6 separate regions of the Homo sapiens genome follow, and regions 1, 2, 3, 5 and 6 are each linked to region 4. The links are contacts of gene promoters, found by promoter capture Hi-C in blood cells and fetal thymus (Javierre and others, 2016). All regions are on one chromosome and are shown on one strand. Each heading gives the region's core, a stretch centred on a gene start or on the middle of the fragment in contact. The rest is flanking DNA. Distances are from core to core; before and after follow the strand shown. Region 1 overlaps NCKIPSD (NCK interacting protein with SH3 domain). Region 2 overlaps CELSR3 (cadherin EGF LAG seven-pass G-type receptor 3). Region 3 holds the start of CAMP (cathelicidin antimicrobial peptide). Region 4 holds the start of ATRIP (ATR interacting protein). Region 5 overlaps SLC26A6 (solute carrier family 26 member 6). Region 6 overlaps ZNF589 (zinc finger protein 589).

Region 1 (3,793 bases), core at 1,015-3,514, 240 kb after region 4:
CTGCTGCCTTCTCCTCTGTGGTCCCCAGGCTCAGTGTACCCAGGGCTTCCAGGTCATCAGAGGCTGAGGTTGTACCAGTTGCCACTTCTTCTTCTGCAGGGGGTTCAGGTGCTGATGCCTTGGAGGGAGGGGGCTGGACTTGGGACACGGTGGTGTGGGTGCCTCGGCGGGGCACAGGTGGGGGTGTGGGTGAGCAGCTGGAGCCTGGTTCAGATGGGCTGGAGCTGGTATAGAGCGTGTCCAGGGAGGTGCTGCTGACTGAGGAGCCGCTGGACACAGAGTTACCCCCGGAGGGCATGGTGTTGTGGCCACCTGCGAGCAGTGAGTAGAAGCTGGGCCAGGGCAGCCCCCTGGAAAACCATACCCTTCACAGCCCAGATCCCCTGTCCCCTAACACAGGGCCTAGTTTCTCTGCTAGGCACTGCCTCCTCACAAAGCCCAGAGCCCCTAATTGCCCCAAAATGGGAGTCCTGTCCTCTTCCCCAGCTTAGAGCCTCCATTTCCCTGACACAGGCAGCACAACCATTCCAAGCATAGGGTGCCTCCACCTGAATTCCCCTAACCCTGCCTTCTTACCACTCCCAGAGGCCATCAGGGCCTCGCGGTCTCGGCGCTTCACTGGTGGGGGCGGTGTGGTGGGTGCTGCTCGGCGAGGCTGTGGTGGGATCTGGGAAGATGGAAGTGGGATCTGGAAGATGGAAGTAGGATCTTGGAGGACAGACTGACATCTAGAGCGTCAGCGAGGCTCGGGCCCTGAGCCCTGGCTGTGGGCAGGACTATGGCTCTGGGCCGCATCACTCCTGAGTGGACCCCTTGAGCCTCTGGATGAAGCCTCAAGTTCCACCCACCTCCCTTCTCCACGATGTCCTCCCCACACACCTGGTAGAGGCCTCCATCTGCCCCAAGATGCTCAGAACTGGGTAGGCTGTGCTGCCGCTCGAACCCAGCTCGACACACCCCATTGGGCTGCCTGGCTGCAGCAGCATCCAAGTGGTGGTCACTGGTTGATGAGGTCATAACTGCAACACTGGAGGCTGAAGGGCCTCTGCGTGACAGGGTCTCTTTCCGGTGGTGGATCAGCTTCCTGATGGAAGGACAGGAAGACTATTGGGGGGTTGCATCTCACAGCTCAAAGTCCTCATATGCCCCTGTGGGATGCTGGGACCCCATAGCCCAGGCCCCTCAGACATCCCCATCTCCTCCATGCTCCACCCCAGCCTACAGTACCCCATACTATCCTCAGTCCTGCGCTCTGCACACCCCTGGTGCTCACTGAAGGACCCGACCCCACCTTGCTCACTGGGAGGTGCCATTCCCCCACCACCCTTGCCAACCCTCGCATTTCCCAGGCCCACCTGCCCCATGACACTCATTGAAGAACCCCACCCCACCATGCTCACCGGGAGGTCCCACTTCACTCCCCTCAACACTCACTGGAGGACTCCACGCTGTTCCAGGCTGTACTTGCCACCATCCCGCATGGCTGTGTTGTGTACAGCCTCGATGGCCCGGTCAATGGCCTGGAGGACATCCTGCTCCAGGCCCTGGGGGGGGCAGGGGACAGCAGTTAGACCTGAAGGCCAAACGGAGGTGCTCAGCCCAGGCCCAGCCCGAGATAGAACCCAGGGCAGAGAACCAATATAGCGAAAGCCTGGAATGCTAGACATAGCACAAAAAGTTGAACCAGAATATGGAATGGGGTTCTCAAACTGTATCACTCAGGGAGCTGAGGCACAGGGTGACCCCCATGCTGCCACATTACATATTAGGTCCTGATCAGGATTTTACCCCACAGCAAGGCTCTTGGCTAAGATGTTTCTGAAAATCAGAGGTCTAAAGCAAAAACATAGCCCAGGGGCTCCCAGCTTGCAGCCAGGAGCGCATACCTCGTCTATCCCTGGTCTTGGCTCAGAGCCCAGGTTGAGATGCCAAACAGGAAGTCTCCAGTATCTGGAATCCTTAATACATCACTCTGCATCTTGCTGATCTTTCACAAAACCAAGGTCATACCCCAGAACAGCCCTGTCCTTGTAAGGGCCCTCTGTAAGCCCTGGGAGCTGAGAATGGGTCAAAGGGACTTGCCCTCCCCAACCCTGCTGCTGGCCCTCATCCCCACAAGATGTCTCAGTAAGCTTCCAAACCCACCCTGGGAAGCAGTTCTGTGTTTGTGGCAAAGGATAAACATGAGAGAGGGGCCTAGCCCCTGTTCCAGGCTCTGTACTGCCATCCCCAACATTCCAGGGATCCAGTCTACTCTGCCTATCTGACATGGGGAGTGTAGGGTAGCAGCTATCAAACCAGCTACCCCCAGCCCTCCCCTGGCCCTGGCACACGTAGTCCATCAGGCTACATAGGAGTCCCGGAGCTGAGATGAACTCATTCCACCATGGGTTTGAGAAGCTTCCCTGATGGGCACAGACAGGTGGGCACAGAGGTCAGCAAAGCCCTCCAGGTGGTATGAGGTGTGCCAGAGTGCAGGGAGAGGAGACAGGGGGATAGAAAGACATGAAGACACACACACACACACACACACACACACACACACACACACAGAGAGAGAGAGAAAGAAAGGAATGGGGAAAGAGAGGAGCTCAGAGAGGAACGGAGAGGCAGACAGAGGGAAACAACGCAGAAAGAAACAGAGCCAAAGCCAGAGTGTGGGGGGAGCCGGAGGAAGAAACAAAAACACACACATGTGGAGTCGGAACGACACAGGCAGAGAGGCACAGAGTCGCAGCAATCCAGACAGAAAGAGACACGCAGAAAGAAACAGACAGTGACAGAGAAGATGGTAGCCTCTCTGCCCTCCCCAAACACCTTGCCCCACTGGTCCTGGCTGGCGGCAGGGGACTCACAGGCCCTTGACCTATGCCCAGTAGGGGAAGAGACAGGACTTTTCCTCAGAGGCCTTCAATGAGACCCCATTCCCAAAAAGGTTGGGTCTGACACACAGCAGCCATGGTGTCCACGGCCCCCACTCCCACCCCTGGCACTCCTAGATGGGATCACGCCAAGGGTCTATGAGGAAGCCCCTAGGCCCCCAGGGCCCATCCTTCCTGGTAAGACCAGATGACACTTCCAAATTTATCCCGTTATTTCTGTCCTGAACTGGGCTGGGACAGGATGTTTCCTAAAGGATAAGGACTAGGACGGGGCGGGGGTGTCTGGCACAGGCCCGGCAGCTCTGGGCCCTTCTTCCCCCTGTGGTCAGAATAGACCAGCTGGAGATACGCACCCCAACCCCCGCAGCAGGGCTACTCTTAGGGAAACAGGAACTGGGACTGCAGCTTCCACTGGAAGGAAATGGGGCCACGATCAGACCAGGAGAAGCTATAAGAACTCACTTCATCACAATGTGAGCAGTCCCCACTCCAGGCTGGGAACAAGTAGGGATGGAACCCATTTTCAAAGCAAGAAAGTTTGAGAAGTCAGGGTTGGGGAGTGGAGCAGACAGTGTCAGCAGGGGCATGGGTCCTTGGTTCAAATAAGGTTGGTAGAGACTTAAGAAGAGCTTAGAGGGTGGCTGAACACAGGCTAGTGAAAGACACTGAAGTACCAAAGCTTGGGTGTTACATAGGGGATGGAGGTGTCTATGGCTCTAGGGTCCAAGTTGGGGGGTTGAGGACCTGGAGAATGGCTAGGGAAACAGGTGGTGTCCAAGGTGGTCCAGGTCTCAGTGGTGGCTCCAACGGGGGGCAAGGCGCGGGGTTGGGGGAAGAAGGAAGGGAGGGAGGGAGGGAGGGAGGGAGGGAGGGAGGGAGGTTGGTTGTGGGGTCCTAGGAATCCAGAGAAG
Region 2 (3,736 bases), core at 1-2,500, 200 kb after region 4:
GCAGGAGCCTGAGCTGGGGATCCAGGGGCAGGAGGCTGGGAGCTGGGGGGCCAAGGCACTGAGAACATAGGGCACAGCCCCACCTCATTGAAGTGGGCATCCTGTGTGGCTGTCAGCCCGAAGCCCTGCTGATGGCTCTCGAAGGCCAGCAGGTGGGCCAGCAGGCGGGCAGTGACTCGAACATCTTGGCTAAAATAGTGGTCAGTGTGGCCAGTCACCTCCCGTAGCCGCTGAGCCAGCTTCTTGGCCTCCATGGTATCCAGTGCCGTCTTGTTCAGCTCTAGGCCATCCAGCTGCCAAGACAAGGAGATGGTTGCTCTGTGGTCCCTTAGGCCTTCCTCTAAAGCTTCACAGGGAGAAAGCCTTGCCAGATTAAAGGGCAACCAGGAAAGGCTCAGGAGTTCAAGGGCTAGGGTGTGGTATCTGGGGCCCACCACAGGCCAAGGAAGGTCTTAGGTTGCAGGAAAAGGTCTGGGCAGTCTCACCAGCAGACTGAGCTCTCGAAAGGCAGGGGAGGTACAGTTGAAGAGGTCGGGCTCCAGCCAACCCTGGGCCTCATCACACAGCCGCACAGCAGCACCTGGAGGCAGGCAACCCCTGGTCAGGCCTGGGGCCTGGATACCTTTGCTGAGGAGATAACCGCAGCACCCTCTCCTATGCTGGGGGAATCCCTGAGGCAGAAGTCAGAGTCATGAGCATCTATAGCTGCACCCCTGGAGGTAGCGGCCCAAGCCCAGGTAGGCCCCAGCTGCTTGTCAGGCAATTCCTGAGAGGGCTGTAGACCATTCTCAACCAGCAACCACACAAAGCACAAGGGTGGGGCTGCACACACTCACCCACGTGGGCCAGGACTGGCTCATAGATGTGCTGGTTCACACAGACACACACCAATGCTCACCAATTACACACAGATGTATGGACCAGACCAGTACGCAGACACACAATGCTCTCTCGCACACACACAGACATGCCAACACAGAAGAGGGCTTCTAGGAACATCCAGTGAAAGTCAGGTGGGAGGATTCTCACACAAGTTTTAACTGCCCCAGTGGTTACTTTGCTGTCATTTCTCTCCCTTGTCTCTGGGGTTGGGATGGAGGTTGAATGAGAATTGACTTGGATCTTAAAAAAGTTTGTAGCTACCAACAAGAGAGAGCCTAACTTAATCACAGAATCCCCTCCCCGCAACAGGTTCACAGACACGTGCACAGGCACAGAGATACACACGTGAGCATGCGTACACAAACAATCTCTGTCCAGCCACTGCAGAGACCTCAAGCAGCAGGGAGTGTTCTGAGGGGACCTCAGGCAGTGGGGAGGGGCCCCCAAGCAGCAGGAAGGAGCTATAGGGTCCTCAGACTGAGGAGGGATCTTTCGTGACCTCAGGCAGTGGGGAAAGTTCTATGGGGACCCCAGGAACTGAGAAGGGGTCAGCAGGGTCCTCAGGCAATGGGGAGGGGTCTCTGAGGATCTCAGGCATCAGAGAAGGGCCCCTGGGGTACTCAGATAGCCAGAAGGGGCCTGCAGGGACTTTAGGCAGCAGGGAGGGGTCTGCAGGGACCTCAGGCAGCAGGAGGGGTCTGCAAAAGCTCTGGTAGTGGGAGGGGGCAGTGCACCTGAGCAAACACGTACCCCTTACCTGCACCCCGCAATCCTGCCCAGAAGCCAAGAGAAACAGATGGAGGCTCAATGAGGGTGTAGGGAGGGGCCCACATGGACTCCCACCCCACTTCCACCTCTTTGCAGGAACAAAGCCACCCAATTTAGGAAAAGACATGGCTCTAGCAGTCAGAGTACAGGCCCACCCCCACCCTCAGTGATGTCCTTTCCCCCCACATACTCACCCAGGGCCCCCCGGGGACAGGGCACTGTGGCCAGGACGCCAAACTTTGTCTGGGGCCACCACACACCAGATCTCAGGGACTTAGGGCAGGCATCATAGAGCACTAGAGAGAGAAGAGGTGCTGAGCCAGGCAGTCAGGGTACAGGGCAGTTGACAGCCACACCCACTGCCCCTCCACCACCCCCCACAAGGCCCACTGCCCGCCACTCCTGCTGGCTTCTCAGGAGCTGACCTGTCAGATTCTGTGACAGGTCAGCAAAGTACTTGGGGCAAAGGTAGGGTTCCCTGGGTGTAAGTGGTCTCCCTCAGGAGAAGCTTCCAGAGTCCCCAAGGAGCCATGTGTGCCACTGACACGTGATGGTGGCACACTGGAACCAGCCCTCTATGGGTGGAGCTGGGTGGAGCCTGCTCACCCCGGCAGCCGCTGGCTGTCACCTCTGCGAAGGGACTGTCACAGCTGTTGCACTGGCGGCCAAGGGCTCCTGGGCGACAGGGGCACTGCCCGCTGTGGGGTGCACATGAGCGCGAGGTGGAGCCCACAGGGTAGCAGTCACATGGGAGGCAAGAGTCACTGCCCCGCGGTCGGTAGTGGAACTCCTGTTTGAGGATGGGCCAGGGGCCTGAAGTCAGAGGTCAGGGCTTGGGGAATGAGTGGAATCAAGGATAAAGGGTCAAGAGAACAGTGCTCATGGGCCAGAGGACACCTGGGTCATGCGTGAAGCCAAGGGAGGGGTCACGGGTAAAGGATGAGAGACAGCAACTTGGTCACAGGACACAGGCAAGAGGTTAGGGCCCAAGTCAGGTGGCGGAGGTCAGCAAGCTGGACAGGAATTGCAGATTGCGTCCAAGGAAGGGTTAAAAGGTCAGGGGCCAGGCGCACCTTGCAGTGACACTGCCCATTTGTCTTGTTGCAGTTGGGATCAAAACCTTTGTGAACATCACAGTTGCAGGGGCCACAGGTTGGGCTCCCCCACCAGCCCCGTGGGCACTGCTGGTCCATCCTGGGGGTGCAGAGCCAGGTAAGATGCCTCCACGGTATCCCAGTGACCCTCCCTGTCCCTGCCAGGTCTCCCCATCGCCTCAGCCCCAGCCTCTTACCTGTGCTCACAGTGGTGCCCGAAATAGCCACCCACACAGTCACAGGTATAGCCATGGGGGGCTCCTGGCAGGTGCCGGCATGATCCCTGGTTCTGACAGGGGTTCAGGAGGCAGGCATCCACACAGCCTGGGCCGTAGTAACCTGCAGATTGGGTCAGAAAGCTCAGGATCCTGGTCGCAGAGCATGGAAGGAAGCAGGCACCCGTCCCGAGTCCCTGCCTCCTTCAGGTTCCCCAGTCTTCATCATGGGCCCCTAACGCCTGCCCAGGTCACCCTTCCCCCAACCCTCTCAAGGCTCACCTGGCTGGCAGGTGCAAGAAAAGGTCTGCCAGAGGTCCCGGCAGTCTGCGTGAGGTGGGCAGGGCCCAGAGGCACAGGCGTTGGTCACAACACAGCCAGGCTCCGCATTCACTCGGTGGCTGGGGGGTAGCAGGGCCGGGGAGCCAGAGGGTGTGGAGCCGAGCCACACCCCCTGTGGACACACAGCCAGCAAGGGGTGAGACCATGTTAAGGCACCTCAGCCTCAAGTACTGCAGAGCCAGCCACCCGGTCTGATGATCCTTGACATGCAGTCTTCTGATACCCTCAAAAAACCCAGGCCTCAAAAATATCCCCAATTTGGTACCCCTGTGGGACCCTAATTGTGCTGTTTCTGACACAGATTCCTAAAGGCCCTTGATAATCCAAGCTAGACTCCCACCTCCAATGCCACAGAAAGGCTTGACCTAGCTCTCAACTCTGGGTCATTCACCCCCTCGCACCAACCCCCACTTGAATACTGCCTTTCAGGTCCCA
Region 3 (3,461 bases), core at 414-2,913, 220 kb before region 4:
GGGGTGAGCCATTATGAAAAAGGCGAGCTGGTGAGAGCCTCCTTTCTCCCTCTCTAGGAGGAAGGGGCAGCCATGGGTTCTAAAGGTCTGAAGTCAGCCGCCCTACCTCAGGTAGTGGACACCGACCTGCATGTGCCGAGGGCAGGACTCACTCCTGGAACCTGGGAAGCCTGGACCTTGTGCGATGGCCCTGAGAGGGAAAGCAAGTGCCCCTGAGTCCAGACTTCTGCAGTTGTATCAGAGGGCCTATGCAAGCTGCTTGGGCTCTGGCTGATTTCATGTGAGGGCGTGTCCAGCACTGGCCGAAGTGGAACGTCCTCTTGAGGCAGTTGGAAAGGGGCTCTGAATATGCCAGATCTGACCTAGAGGAACACAGGAGCATGCAGCTCTCACGCCCTAGCCTAAGGACTAACATTGCCATCTGCTTCTCCCCGGTTTGGCTTCTTGGGGATCCTGAAGCCAGTCAGAAGGGTGGAGGAAGCAGGAGAGCCCTGAGAGGTCTGATATCCCTGGATGGCCCTTTTCCCAACAGCCATAAAAGACCTGATGTGCAAGCCCTGCTTGACCAACAGGCCACTGGGGCAACACTTGAACTGTGAAACCAGGTTGCACAGAAGCCCACTTCTTCCTTCTCTCAAGGCCAGGTGTGCAACCGGTGGCCTTCGTCCAGGCTTCCACCTTCCAGGAGCCCTGCTGTCCAAGCCCCCAAGTGTCCCACAGGCCAACTGAGGTCAAGAGGTACCCCAGGCCTCAGGGCCACATGGCCAGTCCACAGAGGAGCTGGGACCGGAATTTGCCTCATGGACGCTGGACCCCTCTATCACTTTGGCCCTTTATCTCTCCTGGCTGTGATCTCTCCCTCTCCCAACACCAGCCACCCATCCCAGCTTGGTGTCTCAGCTAGAGCACCAAACAGGGAGTAATTTGAGGTCGAATCAGGAGAGACTTCCTGGAAGATGTAGGGGCAAAGAGGAGATTGCTGTGCCTGGTTGGAGGTCAGGGAAAGCTTCATGAGGTGAAAGGGCAGGCCAAACAGAAGGATCGGGGCAGAGCTGGGAGAAAGAGCAGGAGGCTCAGATGAGCCTATGTGATGGGGGCATACGTGACAGTCTGGCACTTGCAGTGTGCAGGGCTGGGGTGAGGGCAGTGGGAACCAAAAGGCCACAGGCCCTGATGCCAGCCTAGGGGGTGTGTGGGCTCCTGAAGGTAGAGGGTTGAAATGGCCAAATTGGTGGTTTAAAGGAACCCCTGGACAACGGTGTGGAGGGTGGACTGTGGTCTGGGGAGAGCCTGAAACCTAGAGAAGGTGGAGTCTGGAGGCTGGGGCAGCATTGCATGGGAGAGAAGATGGCGGCAGGAGCCAGGCAGGGGTGGAAGGAGAGGCCAGAGGGGAGTGCTTTCGGGAGGAAGGAGCCAAAGGTGCTTCAGGGCTCATGCAGTGGGCACTCAGCAGAAGAGCAGTCAAGGAGGCCCAGTGGGGACAACCGGGACGTTCATGGGAGTCTCGAACTCAGAGATACAGACTGGGTGGTGTCTGCCTATTATAACTGGTGTCCTGGGAGAGGGCGTCCCCAGGGAAACCCGAGGCCAGGGAAGAGAAGCAGCCCAGGAGGTGACCCCACACGCTCTCAATATTAAGAAGACAGCCCTTAGGGGAGACCAAGAAGGAGCCACCAGGGAGGCAGGAGGGACAGCAGGAGAGTGGCATCAGGGGAGACCGGGGCAGCAAGAAGGAAGGCTCACCAGTGCCTGTGCAGACAAAGACCAGGCTTGAGGGTGGCCATGGACCAAGGGTGGGTTGGCCAGCCTTCAGTGGCCTTCAGCATGAAGAAGAGTGAAAAGATGGGGTCAAGAAGCGTAGACAACCTTTCCTAAGACTTGGCTTGGGAGAAGCCATGGTGAAAGGCCATGTCTGGAGGGGCTTGGGAACATTTTGAGACTGAAAAAAACAGTGAAGAAGGATGCAGAAGGGGATAGATGGAGCAGAGCCTTCGTCTGGCTGACGGCTGGGTCCAGAGAGCATGTGGTATGGCCTTGAACTGAAAGGGCAACTTGTCCCTTGCAAGAGTGAGTCTCTAGGTTGGGGGTGGCTACTGTCTTCATTTACCAGTTCTTTTTTTTTTTTTTCATACTGAGTCTCACTCTGTTACCCAGGCTGGAGTGCAGTGGCATGATCTCAGCTAACTGCAACTTCTGCTTCCCGGGTTCAATGGGTTCAAGTGATTCTCATGCCTCAGCTTGTAGCTGGGACTACAGGTGTGAGCCATCATGCGTGGCTAATTTTCATATTTTTAGTAGAGATGGGGTTTCACCATGTTGGCCAAGCTTGTCTCGAACTCCTTATCTCAGGTGATCCGCCCACCTTGGCCTCCCAAAGTGCTGGGATTATAGGCGTGAGCCACCGTGCCCTGCCTCATTCATCAATTCTTAATCGATGCCTACAGGGTGCCAGGCAATGCCTAGAGCTGGAGATTTAGCAGTCCATCATACTGACTCCTGAGGAGTAGAAGGATGTAGAATAGGCACCTGGCTCTCTTCCTCTCTGGAGGGATTTAACGCTCTTGAGCACCCCTGGCTATGACAATCTCCGGTCAGGTCTGGGAGGTTGTCAGAGATGAAGAAACCACTTCCTCATCTTGCACACAAGGAAGGCCTCACTCACTGCCCAGCAAGTCCTGTGAAGCAATAGCCAGGGGCTAAAGCAAACCCCAGCCCACACCCTGGCAGGCAGCCAGGGATGGGTGGATCAGGAAGGCTCCTGGTTGGGCTTTTGCATCAGGCTCAGGCTGGGCATAAAGGAGGCTCCTGTGGGCTAGAGGGAGGCAGACATGGGGACCATGAAGACCCAAAGGGATGGCCACTCCCTGGGGCGGTGGTCACTGGTGCTCCTGCTGCTGGGCCTGGTGATGCCTCTGGCCATCATTGCCCAGGTCCTCAGCTACAAGGAAGCTGTGCTTCGTGCTATAGATGGCATCAACCAGCGGTCCTCGGATGCTAACCTCTACCGCCTCCTGGACCTGGACCCCAGGCCCACGATGGTGAGCTTTGGGGGACATTCTGCTCTGCTCTGGCTGGGCTTGGCCACGTGTTGTTCCTTCTGCTCCTGCTGCACTGCCTGCCAGGAGGGCATCTCCCCCTTTAAATGTGGTCCCGTGTTTTCCAGGGAACCTTCTAGAGCTCGTGTCTCCTCCCAGCTCGAGAGCTTCCTGCCTTATAATTCCTGCTGTGGCAGAGATACCCTCACCCCGACCCCACGCAGGTTTTGGGACTTCTGCGAGCTCCAGGCACTAGAATGGGGTCATTGGCTCTGGGCAGTGACCTCCTCTGCTTTAAGTCTCTTCTGTACCACGTTACCCCACATAGGGAAGAACTCTATCCAGACTTTAGGTTCCAGTGGGCATGTCTTGTCCCCCAGGAAGCCCCCTGACTTCCCTTGCCCCCACCCCAGAGTGGGAGGGGCT
Region 4 (3,573 bases), core at 665-3,164:
GCTGCGGGAAGCCCCAGCCCACTTGCTGGTGGATGGAGGGGGTGCCAGTGCCAGGCAAGGGGTTGGGGGTGAGGCAAAATGGGGGCTCACTCTACCTCCTGCTGCCCAGGACTGGAGTCCCAGGCATACCTACCGCTTGCCCCTCAATAAATGCAAAGACAGAGACCATCCATAATGTGTGCTGAATATGTTTTAAAATGCTTAGCTGGGTGTGGTGGTGCACTTCTGTAGTCCCAGCCATTTGGGAGGCTGAGGTGGGAGGATCACTTGAGCCCAGGAGTTCGAGGCTGCAGTGAGCCAAGATCACACCACTGCACTCCAGCCTGGGAGACAGAACAAGACCCTGTATTTAAAAAAAAAAAATTAATTCAGAAGCACAAGTATTTGGATTTCCCTCCCAGGCCCTTAATACAATTATGTTAATAATGCTCAGCTTTCTCTGAGAATATTGTCGAAGAGCGCTCTGGAACCATTATGAGACTGCTAAATCAAAACTAGGTTTTAGAATATTGAAAACTTTCATGATTAATGTACTAGATATTAACGCGGGAGAGGGGGCAGGGGGAAGCCTGTGTTGGTCCTCTCCAGAAAGTTGCACAGCCAGTAGCACCCTTCAGTAGGCTTCAGGCATTCCCTGTGGGGCCTTGCTAGCTGGCACCCAGCCGTATGCTGCTAAAACAAACCTGAGCACCAGTGATTCACACTGTTCCTGAAAGCAAGTTACTTGGTGGAACCTATCCCTCTTTAACAAATGAACAGTCCTGTCTCTTTCCAGGACCAGAGTCCTGCAGCAATTAAGCATGCAACACTTGGGAAGCTATCTGACGGAGACTACCAGTTGCTCCAAAAAATTTTAAACTCCTTAGACATTATAGGCCCTGATAGCACTCTCTTTTTCATTTACTCTTTTCATTTAATGCTTTCACAAATATTCCTAGGACACTCACAGGTGAAGTTTGGCACTGAGCAGGTAAGGCTGAAAGAGTCTTGCTCCTGTTACTCTCCATTGCCAAATTCTCTATTGCGGCTAACTTCTGCACACCACAGCTGCCCAATAAAATCTGTCAGGCACGCAAGCCCACCTCAAATTGCTGCTCCTTTGTGAAGCTTTACCTCTGTTCGCCACCGGTAACTCTTACCTGGCCTTTGTGTGGCCTCCCTTTCAATGTAGAATTCTCGTGTTAGTCTTATGTGCCAGCCTCCTACCCCTCTATCCTGCTAACTTGACTCAACTTGTAGGACAGCGCAGGTGCCATTTACAGGGGGACTTCCTTGACCTCCTGAGCCCTATTCTATACAACCAGAGCTTAGGAAAAAAAAACAGTCCAGCACTCAGAGGAATGGATGTTAACAGCCTGAGCAGCTCCCACCCCCTCCCACACAAGAACAGCTCCAAACATCATTCCTCCTTGGACTTTCCTCCTCCCTGGGCCTACCTCAAATGTACACATGTGAAACATTCACTAAACCCGAAGATGTCTGCACACGACAGCTCTATTCATACTCCTCACCCAACAAATTCCACTCTCCTCAAGAAAGCCTAGGGGTTTGTGGGAGGTGGGTCTGGCGGCAGAAGGAAAGCGAGGTCACGGAGACCACATCCCTGAATGATGCCTGGCTCGACTCAAACGCAACACGCGTGAATGCTAGGGCAGGCTGCTCCTGCGCGGCCCTCCTCCACGGAATGCCAGGGAGGGAGCGCAAAGCCACCAGCGCGGCGGAGCTGGTGCGCCTCCGGCCCGCCTCTCCGGTAACGGGTCGCGCCGCACTGAGTCCTTGCAGCAAACCTGCCGAATCCCGCCCGTGGACCTCTAAACACCGGGCGGGGCCGGGTGTGGCGGCGCGCTCGGACGTTCGTCATTCCTCCGCGCCCTCCGCCTGCCAGCTGATTGGCCCCTGGGCCAGGGGCGGGGCACTCGCGGCGGAGGCAAGCGGCGGCGCGCGGACGGTTGGTCCAGTTCTCCGGCCTGGCGGCAGGCAAGTCTAGCTCGGCGCTGTCGGATACTTGGGGTGAGCGGAAAGCATGGCGGGGACCTCCGCGCCAGGCAGCAAGAGGCGGAGCGAGCCCCCGGCGCCTCGCCCCGGCCCGCCGCCGGGCACCGGGCACCCCCCGAGCAAGCGGGCCCGGGGCTTCTCCGCAGCCGCTGCCCCGGACCCTGACGACCCGTTCGGCGCGCATGGGGACTTCACTGCCGACGACCTGGAGGAGCTTGACACCCTCGCGTCACAGGCCCTGAGCCAATGTCCGGCCGCGGCTCGGGACGTGTCCAGTGAGTGCTCCTCGCGGCCTTTTGCTCGGAGGGAGTTGTCAACCGCGCCAGATCCCCTTGATGGCTGTGGCTTCGGAACCTCGCGGCCAGCACTGCCTTTTCGCCTTTTTAAAATATGGGAACACCCTGATTTAAGCAGCGGTTGTCTTCCAGAAGGTCCTTTGATTTTAGGGGGAAATGCATTAGCCAGGTCAAACAGCCGATTTGAAACACAGAAGGCTAAGTTGACATTTTACGTTATTTTCTAAAGTTTAGGCCACTTGGTTCTTGGTTCTAAGCAGAGATCCTTGGAACACACCTACCACCACCATCAGAACCATCACTACCCATGCATGGGGACCCATTCTTGTGACAAGTTTGAGCGGCTTTAGATCTTATGAAGCCCACTGTCTCCCTTGGGCAGTGTGAGCATGGGAGGAGCCAGACACAGGCAAGAGATGAAATAAATTTATTCTTTTATACAACCAGTAAACTGTGCTAGGTGCCCAAACGTGAGGAACTGCAGCTGACCTTACAATGAACAAAATACAAAAACTGTCCTTCATGGAGCTTACATTCTAGTTGAGGAGTGAGTGAAGTCTTGAGGACTCCCAGAAAGAGAAATGTTTTGAGTGCACCTTGCATCTGTACTTGGGTGTCTCAAGGCACCTTAAACTCAACACGATCATTTCCTGGAAACCCAGTCCTCCTCCAGCACTTCTAGCATGGTGCCGGCAAAGCAGACATTCAGAGAATGATGACCAGATGTTCCACAAGGAAGTAACTAGCACGACTCTCCATCCAGTGGCACAAAGCGACTCTTCCCCTTTCCTTGACTCTACATCTAATTTATTTGGAAAGCATGTCAAGCTTACCTTCTTAATCCTTCTCTGGAGTCTATCCTATTCACATTGCTTCTACCAGCTGCCTGATCTGTGTTACCATGAGTCCTCTCTTGAACAATGGTCTGCTAAATTGGTTTCCCATTTCCAGTCTTGACTCCCTACAAGTGAGGCTTCACATCACATTCTGAGTGATCTTTTCAAAACTCAAATCTGGCTGTGTCTTACACAGATATACGTGAACACCCTTTTTTTTTTTTTTTTTTTTGACGGAGTCTCACTCTGTCACCCAGGCTGAAGTGCAGTGATGCCATCTTGGCTCACCACAGCCTCTACCTCCCAGGTTCAAGAGATTCTCTTGCCTCAACCTCCCGAGTAGCCTCAGCCTCCCAAGTAGCTGGGATTACTTGTGCCCGCCACCATGCCTGGCTAATTTTTGTATTTTTAGTAGAGACGGGGTTTCGCCATGTTGGCCAGGCTGG
Region 5 (3,395 bases), core at 220-2,719, 180 kb after region 4:
CTCTCTCACTAGCTGGAATGAGGGGACCAACATGGCGGACTCACATCTGTGTCCGGACCACCACGAGCAGCAGGGAGAAGATGACCGCAACCACCAAGCCAAGGTCCAGGTTCAGCAAGATGGTGGCCGTGAAGGTCACCAGCCAGATAAGCTGAGAACAGAGGGCAGCGGTTGGAGGGCGGCGAGGAGCCATGGGGCTGCCCAGTCCCTGCCCTGGGCTCCCAGTGCACTCACCAGATCCGCCCGATTGGCCTTCCAGAGGGAGCGCATGTCGCTGAGCTGCCTCAGCATGCCCTTCAGGTTCACAATGATGATGGCTGCCAGGACCGCCTGGGGTGGGGACAGTGCCACCAGGGGCCATTGAGGGCACCCGATGCTGACAACCCTCCTCACCGAGGCAAAGCCAGACTAAGCCCAAGCACTCAGGCAGTACCCCAGACACAAACCCCCACCCAGCCCCTGACCCTTGTCTCCAAATCTCACCTTGAAGATCTCAGCCTTGAAAAACAGAACCTAACCTTGTGTCCCCACCCCTCGCCTGAACCTAGACTGGCTGATTTGAGAGCCCTGGCCTGGCCAAGACCTGAAACCTGGCTGGGTGGGGGCTCACCTTGGGCAGGTCATGGAAGAGTTCCCCAAGTTTGACAATGATGAGGAGGATGAAAAGGGAAGAGATGGCTCCAGCAACCTGTTCGGGGAGGGAGTGAGCAGGGGAGAGACCTCCTTCCCCAGGCAAAGCAATGTGCATGCCCACACCCATGCCCACACCCAAAGCCCACCTGCGAGTTGCCCCCGGTGCTCTCCTGTACCAGGCTCCGAGACATAGAGCAACTCACGGGGAAGCACTGGAAGATGCCTCCGATAAGGTTACTGAGGCCCAGGGCCACCAGCTCCTGACGGGGGACAGTACGGGTGTGAGAAGACTTCCTAGAAGTGGCTGGTCACTGTTCCACTGTATCTAGGCCTGTGCATCCCCAATCTCCATCCCCACCAAGTGGCCCCCAGAGACTGGATGCTGTCCCACACGTCCTGCTCTCCCACCCTCAGTCCCCCACGTGGCCTCAGCACATCTGCTGTCTCCCTGTGTCCCACCGGTTCCTCCCCCACCCGTTGCTGGCGCCTCCATACACTTGGATGCCTCCTACACATCCCGCATCACCCAGACCTGGTTGCTGTCCACCCGGTAGCCGTGCCTCAGGGCGAAGATCTTCCCCAGTGAGATGGCAATGGCAAACCCAACCACAGCGATGGTGAAGGCGCTGCCCACGAGCTTTGAGAACAGCTGGGTGTTGGGGGCCACTGGGGGCACCAGCCTGTGAGAGGTATCTGTGAGGCCAAAGCAAGGTCCTGTCCTGGCTGCCCAACCCTCCCTGACCTGATGGAGGCCAGAGCTCACCCTGCAGGGATGTTGCCCACGACATCTACCTCAAATCTGTGCTTTAGACCCATGCCATAGGAGATGCCTGTGGCCCCGATGAGCTGTGGGAGAGGACAGAGTCAGGGAGGCAGGTGCTGGCACCATGGTCAGGGGGACACATAAACCACTGTGAGGTGAGGAGGGAGATACTGGGCAAAACCTTCTTCGAGGGTGGGAAAAAGTCACGTAGGGTGAGAGACAGGCAACACCATTTCGGCTATGGGGAGATGCTGTCAGGGGCAGGAAGAAACCAACATAGGGGCTTTCTGCTGTGCCCCCCACAATACCCAAGAACCCTCCCAGCCCCCCTCCAGCTGGCCCTCAAATACAGGAGGCTGCCCACGTGGCAAGGACCCAGCCTGACCTGCCCTTCTCCCCTGCCCTCCACTCCCTGGCCCTCGAACCGTGAGCAGCTCCCCGGGTATCGGCATGGGCAGCTGCTGCTGCAGCTTGTCATTCAACAGCTTCACCACCACGAGCACCACCCCAGCCACAGCTGCAGTGACCACGGTGCCAACCTTGCTCTGGGGCAGCTTCCAGCAGACCTCCAGCACTGTCTGAGGAGAGGCCAGGTCACAGCTAGCACTCAAGGCCATGGGGCACACCTACCCCTCCCTCCCCCTACCCTCACTCACATAGATGAGGGACAGTGGCCCAGAGTGGCTGCTCAGATGGAGGCCAAACACATACTTGAGCTGTGAGACGAAGACCTGCACAGCTGCAGCTGTGGTATAGCCTCGGACAAGAGGTTCTGACAGGTAGGTGACCACGAAGCCGAAGTGGATCAGGCCCAGCCCCACCTGTGGGGCGGCCAGGGGCAGTCAGGAGAGGCAGGGGTCCTGGGGTTGCTAATGAGGAGCGCAGGGCAAGTGGGATGGGAGGGGGATGAGTAGACGGCAAGAGGAGGACGACGATGGTCAGACACTCAGGGGAGTACAGACAGGACAGTGGCGGGAGCAGAAGTGGTGGTGGGGGGCACATACTCCTGACTGTTCCACACCTGGAAGAGGCCAACCAGGACACTGAGTGTGGAGGCCACCTGTACCCGGGCAGCATCTCTGGCTGTCTCATTGATCATGGAGTCGTTCAAGGCCTGCGGGGCCAGGGATTCTGTCACACTGCCCACCATCACAGACATGACAGCAAAGGTCCCTGTAAGGACGGCACGGGGCAGGTCTGAAGAGGAGAGGACACTGCCCTGCCCTGGAGCCCTGGTCTTAAGAGAGAGGCCAGGAGACTTCCAGTTCTGGATAAATGTACTCAGATTATGGCTGCATGAACAGGGACAGTGCTGGCGGTTCAGGTTTGGCCAGGCCAGGAGTAAACCCTGAGCTCACAGGCCCTTAAGCATGGCTAGAAATGCTGGCCCTGTCTCATCTACCCTGTCCCACCTGTGTCTACTGGTCCCGGGACACAGAGGCTCTCTGTGGAGTAGGGAAGGGGTCAGGGCTGGCCTTAGGCTGCTCAGGCCTCTGCCAAGTTCCAGGCCCCTTGGGCTGCCTCACCCACTCTCATCTTCCTGGAGCCAGGGCTTTGAGGTCACCTGCCTCTGTGGTCCTACAGTCAGGGGTCTAGTCCTGCCTGGGGATGACTCGTGGGCTAGCCCAGGGATGCAGCACCAATGCTGCCCTCTTCCCCAGCCGCTCCTGCCCTGCTCAGTGCCCCCTCACCCTGCCCTCCATGATGGATGTGGGCATCCTCCTGGAAGGCTAGGCCTGCCTCCACTTACCCACGGAGATGTGCCGGGAAGTGCCAAACAGGAAGTAGATGAAGACAGGGTAGAAGGAGCTATAGAGGCCAAACACGGGGGGCAATCCAGCCAGGAGGGCGTAGGCCAAGCCTAGGGGTAGAATGGTAGCAGTGCAGGCCTGGAGAGCAGATCTTGAAACGATAAGGGAATCCCAGCCCTGGGTTAGGTGCCATAGTTCCAAGGTAGAGGTCATGGCCCCAGTTTTGGGCATCACAGACCACAGGGTTT
Region 6 (3,464 bases), core at 262-2,761, 200 kb before region 4:
GTGAAAGTCTGTCTCAAAAAAAAAAAAAAAGGCAGTAACACTAAGTTGAACTTTAGAAGGATAATAACTTTTCCCTCTTGTCATGAGTGGCAAAGAAGATGTTTTGTGGTCACAGAGCTAGAAAGGTTCTTTGACTTGCTTAAGTGCTTCCCAGATGTGTCCAACATGGGCGGAGGCACATCGTGAGGTCCTGGAGTGTGCCTGTGATTCAGCACCTGTTCCCTTTTTGGAGGACTTATTTGCCTCTCTGAAGGATTTGCCTGTGAGTGGTCTCATGCTGGGGAGAGGCACCTAAGGAGTCAGGGCAGAGTCAGGACTCAGGAGGTAGGATCCCTTAGTTCAGCTGTGTGAGGTTACTCTGTGTCCCTCATTTTTTTCCCACCTGCTCAGTGGGATCAGAACCACCTGTCCCTCTGGAAGGGAGAGGCTTAGATGGTCTTTTTTGCTGAAAAGACTGAGGAGCTGCCTCCTTGCCTTGTGCTTTGCTCAGATGTAGCCACTGGGAGTGGCCAAATAATGGTACTCAGTTTTTCTTCTTCTAAAACTTTAGAACTTGAAATAGTAAGATTGCTTTGTTTTCCTCCTGAGTTTAGTCAGGAAAACAGTAACTTGGAAAATTACCCCAGACAGTTATCAAACAAGACTATAATTTTATATATATATTTTTAATTTTAAAATGCTGCTCCATTTACACAAAAATGTGCAGTTCTGGATAGATACATAGTATAGGCACATATTATGGGGCCAGGATGATGGTTTTCTAGGGCATGCAAGAGGAGAAATTGTATATATGTCTTTATGAAATCACTTGACACATTCTCATCACTTAGTACAAAAGCCAGAGTTGTTGCTGGGGTCTGTTTAGAGTGTTTTCCAGGGGTGATGATTTCAGCAGGGGTGATGTCATTATCACATTTAGGGCCTTTTTTTTTTTCTTGCAAACCCAAGGACAAGGCTACCCTTAGCCTAATTCCCCACAGTAACTGCACTATTACTCTGGGGAGCTCAAAAATAGATGGGACGAATTATAAGCTTTTTTTTTTTTTTTCTTTGAGATGGAGTTTTTTACTCTTGTTGCCCAGGCTGGAGTGCAGTGGCACCATCTCAGCCCACTGGAACCTCCGCCTCCCGGGTTCAAGTGATTCTCCTGCCTCAGCCTCCCGAGAAGCTGGGATTACAGGCATGCGCCACCACACCTGGCTAATTTTTGCGTTTTTGGTAGAGATGGGGTTTCACCATGTTGGCCAGGCTGGTCTCGAACTACTTACCGCCCACCTTGGCCTCCCGAAGTGCTGGGATTATGGGCTTGAGCCACGCCCAGCCATTATAAGCTTATATGTATCTTTTCAGAGACAGGGTTTCCCCGGCTCTGTCACTGAGGCTGGAGTATAATGGTGTGATCTCTCACTTCATTGCAACCTTTGCCTCTGGGGCTCAAATGATCCTGCCACTTCAGCCTCCCAAGTAGCTGGGGCTACAGGTGTACACCACCACGCCCGGCTAATTTTTTTATTTTTTGTAGAGATGGGGTTCACCATTGCCCAGGTTGATCTTGAACTTCTGGGCTCAAGCAATCAGCCCACCTCGGCCACCTAACGTGCTGGGATTACAGGCATGAGGCACCGTGCAGAGCCTGGCCAGCTTCTATGTATCTTATAAACACATATGCCTGGAATAAAGGGTGTCAAGGAGGAAGCTTCAGACTGCTGCTAAGACCCTCGTCCCCCTGAGAGGCACTCCCTTCCCCAGACTCTGTCCCTTCTACAAAGGCACAGGTCACAGGTTAGAAATATGACATCCCAGTTCCTTTTCTGAACTTTCAGAATCAGTGACACCCAAGGATCAGAAAAACATTCTTCTTTCCCCTCAGCAAAGATATGGAAGAGAAGGCTGGGCGCGGTGGCTCACGCCTGTAATCCCAGCATTTGGGAGGCCGAGGCAGGCAGATCACCTGAGGTCAGGAGTTCGAGACCAGCCTGGCCAACATGGTGAAACCCTGTCTCTACCAAAAATACGAAAATTAGCCAGGCATGGTGGCAGGTGCCTGTAATCCCAGCTACTTGGGAGGCTGATGCAGGAGAATTGCTTGAACCCAGGAGGCGGAGGTTGCAGTGAGCTGAGATCGTGCCATTGACCTTCAGCCTGGGTGACAGAGTGAGACTCTGTCTCAAAAAAAAAAAAACAGATATGGCAGGGAAAGCTTGAGCTTCCCTCCAGAGATGTTAAAATCTTACCTTTTAAAATTCCACAATAGGCCAGGCGTCGTGGGTCATGCCTATAATCCCAGCACTTTGAGAGGCCAATGTGGGCAGATCACTTAAGGTCGGGAGTTCGAGACCAGCCTAGCCAGCATGGTGAAACCCCCATCTCTACAAAAAATACAAAAATTAGCTGGGCATGGTGGTGCATGCCTGTAATCCCAGGGAAGTTGAGGTGGGAGGATCACTTGAGCCCAGGAGGTGGAGGTTGTAATGAGCAGAGATTGTGCCACTGCATTCCAGCCTGGGCAATAGTGAGACCCTATCTCAATCAATCAATCAATCAATCAGTTCCACAATAATTTGAAGAGGAATGAGAGTCTGACAAGCTGCGCTTTAGAAATGCTGTTGTAATGGTCTTTAATACTTTTTTCTCCTTTTACTCATGCTCTTTTGTAAAATAAGGAATAACATTGACAAGTTTTTAAAACAATATAATAATTATTATTTTTATTATTAGAGATGTGGGTCTCATTGTCACCCAGGCTGGTCTTGAAGCCGTGGATTCAAGTGATCCTCCCACCTCAGCCTCCCAAAGTGTTAGGATTACAGGCGTGAGCCACTGAAACCGGCCTGACACATTTTTAAAAAATATTTTCATTAAATCACAGACTTCTGTTTCTGTGTTTAACATTTTCTTTTTTTTTTCTTGAGACGGAGTCTCGCTCTGTCGCCCAGGCCGGAGTGCAGTGGTGCGATCTCGGCACACTGCAAGCTCTGCCTCCCGGGTTCATGCCATTCTCCTGCCTCAGCCTCCTGAGTAGCTGGGACTACAGGTGCCCGCCACCACACCCAGCTAATTTTTTGTATTTTCAGTAGAGATGGGGTTTCACTGTGTTAGTCAGGATGGTCTCGATCTCCTGACCTTGTGATCGGCCTGCCTCGGCCTCCCAAAGTGCTAGGATTACAGGCGTGAGCCACCGCGCCTGGCCTAACATTTTCATAAACTATTTTCGAGATGGAGTTTTGCTGTTGCCCAAGCTGGAGTGCAGTGGCGTGATCTCTGCTCACTGCAACCTTCGCCCCCTGGGTTCAAGCGATTCTCCTGCCACAGCCTCCTGAGTAGCTGGGATTATAGGCGTGCACTACCATGCCTGGCTAATTTTTTTATTTTTAGTGGAGTTGGGGTTTCTTTGTCATGTTGGTCAGACTGGCCTCAAACTCCTGACCTCAAGTCATCTGCCTGCCTCGGCCTCCCAAAGTTCT

What was found. Contacts are between HindIII fragments. The CHiCAGO score rates a contact against its expected background, and 5 or more counts as called.
Region 1: a fragment that was not itself captured here is called in contact with the fragment with the promoter of ATRIP in region 4 in 1 of 17 cell types (M0 macrophages); the score reaches 5.2 in M0 macrophages.
Region 2: a contact is called between a fragment that was not itself captured here and the fragment with the promoter of ATRIP in region 4, in 1 of 17 cell types (M0 macrophages). The highest score is 5.8, in M0 macrophages.
Region 3: a contact is called between a fragment that was not itself captured here and the fragment with the promoter of ATRIP in region 4, in 2 of 17 cell types (endothelial precursors and M0 macrophages). The highest score is 6.0, in endothelial precursors.
Region 5: a fragment that was not itself captured here is called in contact with the fragment with the promoter of ATRIP in region 4 in 1 of 17 cell types (M1 macrophages); the score reaches 5.6 in M1 macrophages.
Region 6: a fragment that was not itself captured here is called in contact with the fragment with the promoter of ATRIP in region 4 in 3 of 17 cell types (endothelial precursors, megakaryocytes and M1 macrophages); the score reaches 8.1 in endothelial precursors.

The regions. Positions count from the first base shown.
Region 1 is chr3:48,681,469-48,685,261 of GRCh38, forward strand. NCKIPSD (NCK interacting protein with SH3 domain) reads right to left here. Exons shown (of 13, transcript NM_016453.4): 2 at 1,435-1,544; 3 at 880-1,084; 4 at 577-688; 5 at 1-312. Among named protein-coding and RNA genes, the nearest start is that of NCKIPSD, 2.6 kb to the right of the region's middle. The HindIII fragment of the contact is 268 bases long and covers 2,131-2,398 here.
Region 2 is chr3:48,648,636-48,652,371 of GRCh38, forward strand. CELSR3 (cadherin EGF LAG seven-pass G-type receptor 3) reads right to left here. Exons shown (of 35, transcript NM_001407.3): 12 at 3,242-3,413; 13 at 2,942-3,083; 14 at 2,724-2,844; 15 at 2,257-2,440; 16 at 1,845-1,946; 17 at 486-580; 18 at 84-293. Among named protein-coding and RNA genes, the nearest start is that of MIR4793, 6.2 kb to the left of the region's middle. The HindIII fragment of the contact is 1,812 bases long and covers 345-2,156 here.
Region 3 is chr3:48,220,675-48,224,135 of GRCh38, forward strand. It overlaps CAMP (cathelicidin antimicrobial peptide), which reads left to right and starts at 2,821. Exons shown (of 4, transcript NM_004345.5): 1 at 2,821-3,038. The coding sequence starts at 2,838. RefSeq lists enhancers at 2,166-2,285, 2,306-2,435, 2,446-2,495 and a silencer at 2,505-2,799. The HindIII fragment of the contact is 1,319 bases long and covers 1,005-2,323 here.
Region 4 is chr3:48,444,823-48,448,395 of GRCh38, forward strand. It overlaps ATRIP (ATR interacting protein), which reads left to right and starts at 1,915. Exons shown (of 13, transcript NM_130384.3): 1 at 1,915-2,270. The coding sequence starts at 2,024. It overlaps ATRIP-TREX1 (ATRIP-TREX1 readthrough), which reads left to right and starts at 1,957. Exons shown (of 15, transcript NR_153405.1): 1 at 1,957-2,270. It also overlaps a transcript of CCDC51 not described here. RefSeq lists a silencer at 1,860-2,219. The HindIII fragment of the contact is 2,012 bases long and covers 1,106-3,117 here.
Region 5 is chr3:48,629,828-48,633,222 of GRCh38, forward strand. It overlaps SLC26A6 (solute carrier family 26 member 6), which reads right to left. Exons shown (of 21, transcript NM_022911.3): 4 at 3,147-3,257; 5 at 2,418-2,569; 6 at 2,053-2,217; 7 at 1,822-1,974; 8 at 1,397-1,479; 9 at 1,166-1,313; 10 at 780-893; 11 at 611-688; 12 at 235-330; 13 at 45-151. Among named protein-coding and RNA genes, the nearest start is that of MIR6824, 2.2 kb to the right of the region's middle. RefSeq lists enhancers at 1-150, 151-651. The HindIII fragment of the contact is 5,706 bases long and covers 1-3,395 here.
Region 6 is chr3:48,243,778-48,247,241 of GRCh38, forward strand. All of the region lies in intron 1 of ZNF589 (zinc finger protein 589), which reads left to right. Among named protein-coding and RNA genes, the nearest start is that of ZNF589, 4.4 kb to the left of the region's middle. The HindIII fragment of the contact is 365 bases long and covers 1,330-1,694 here.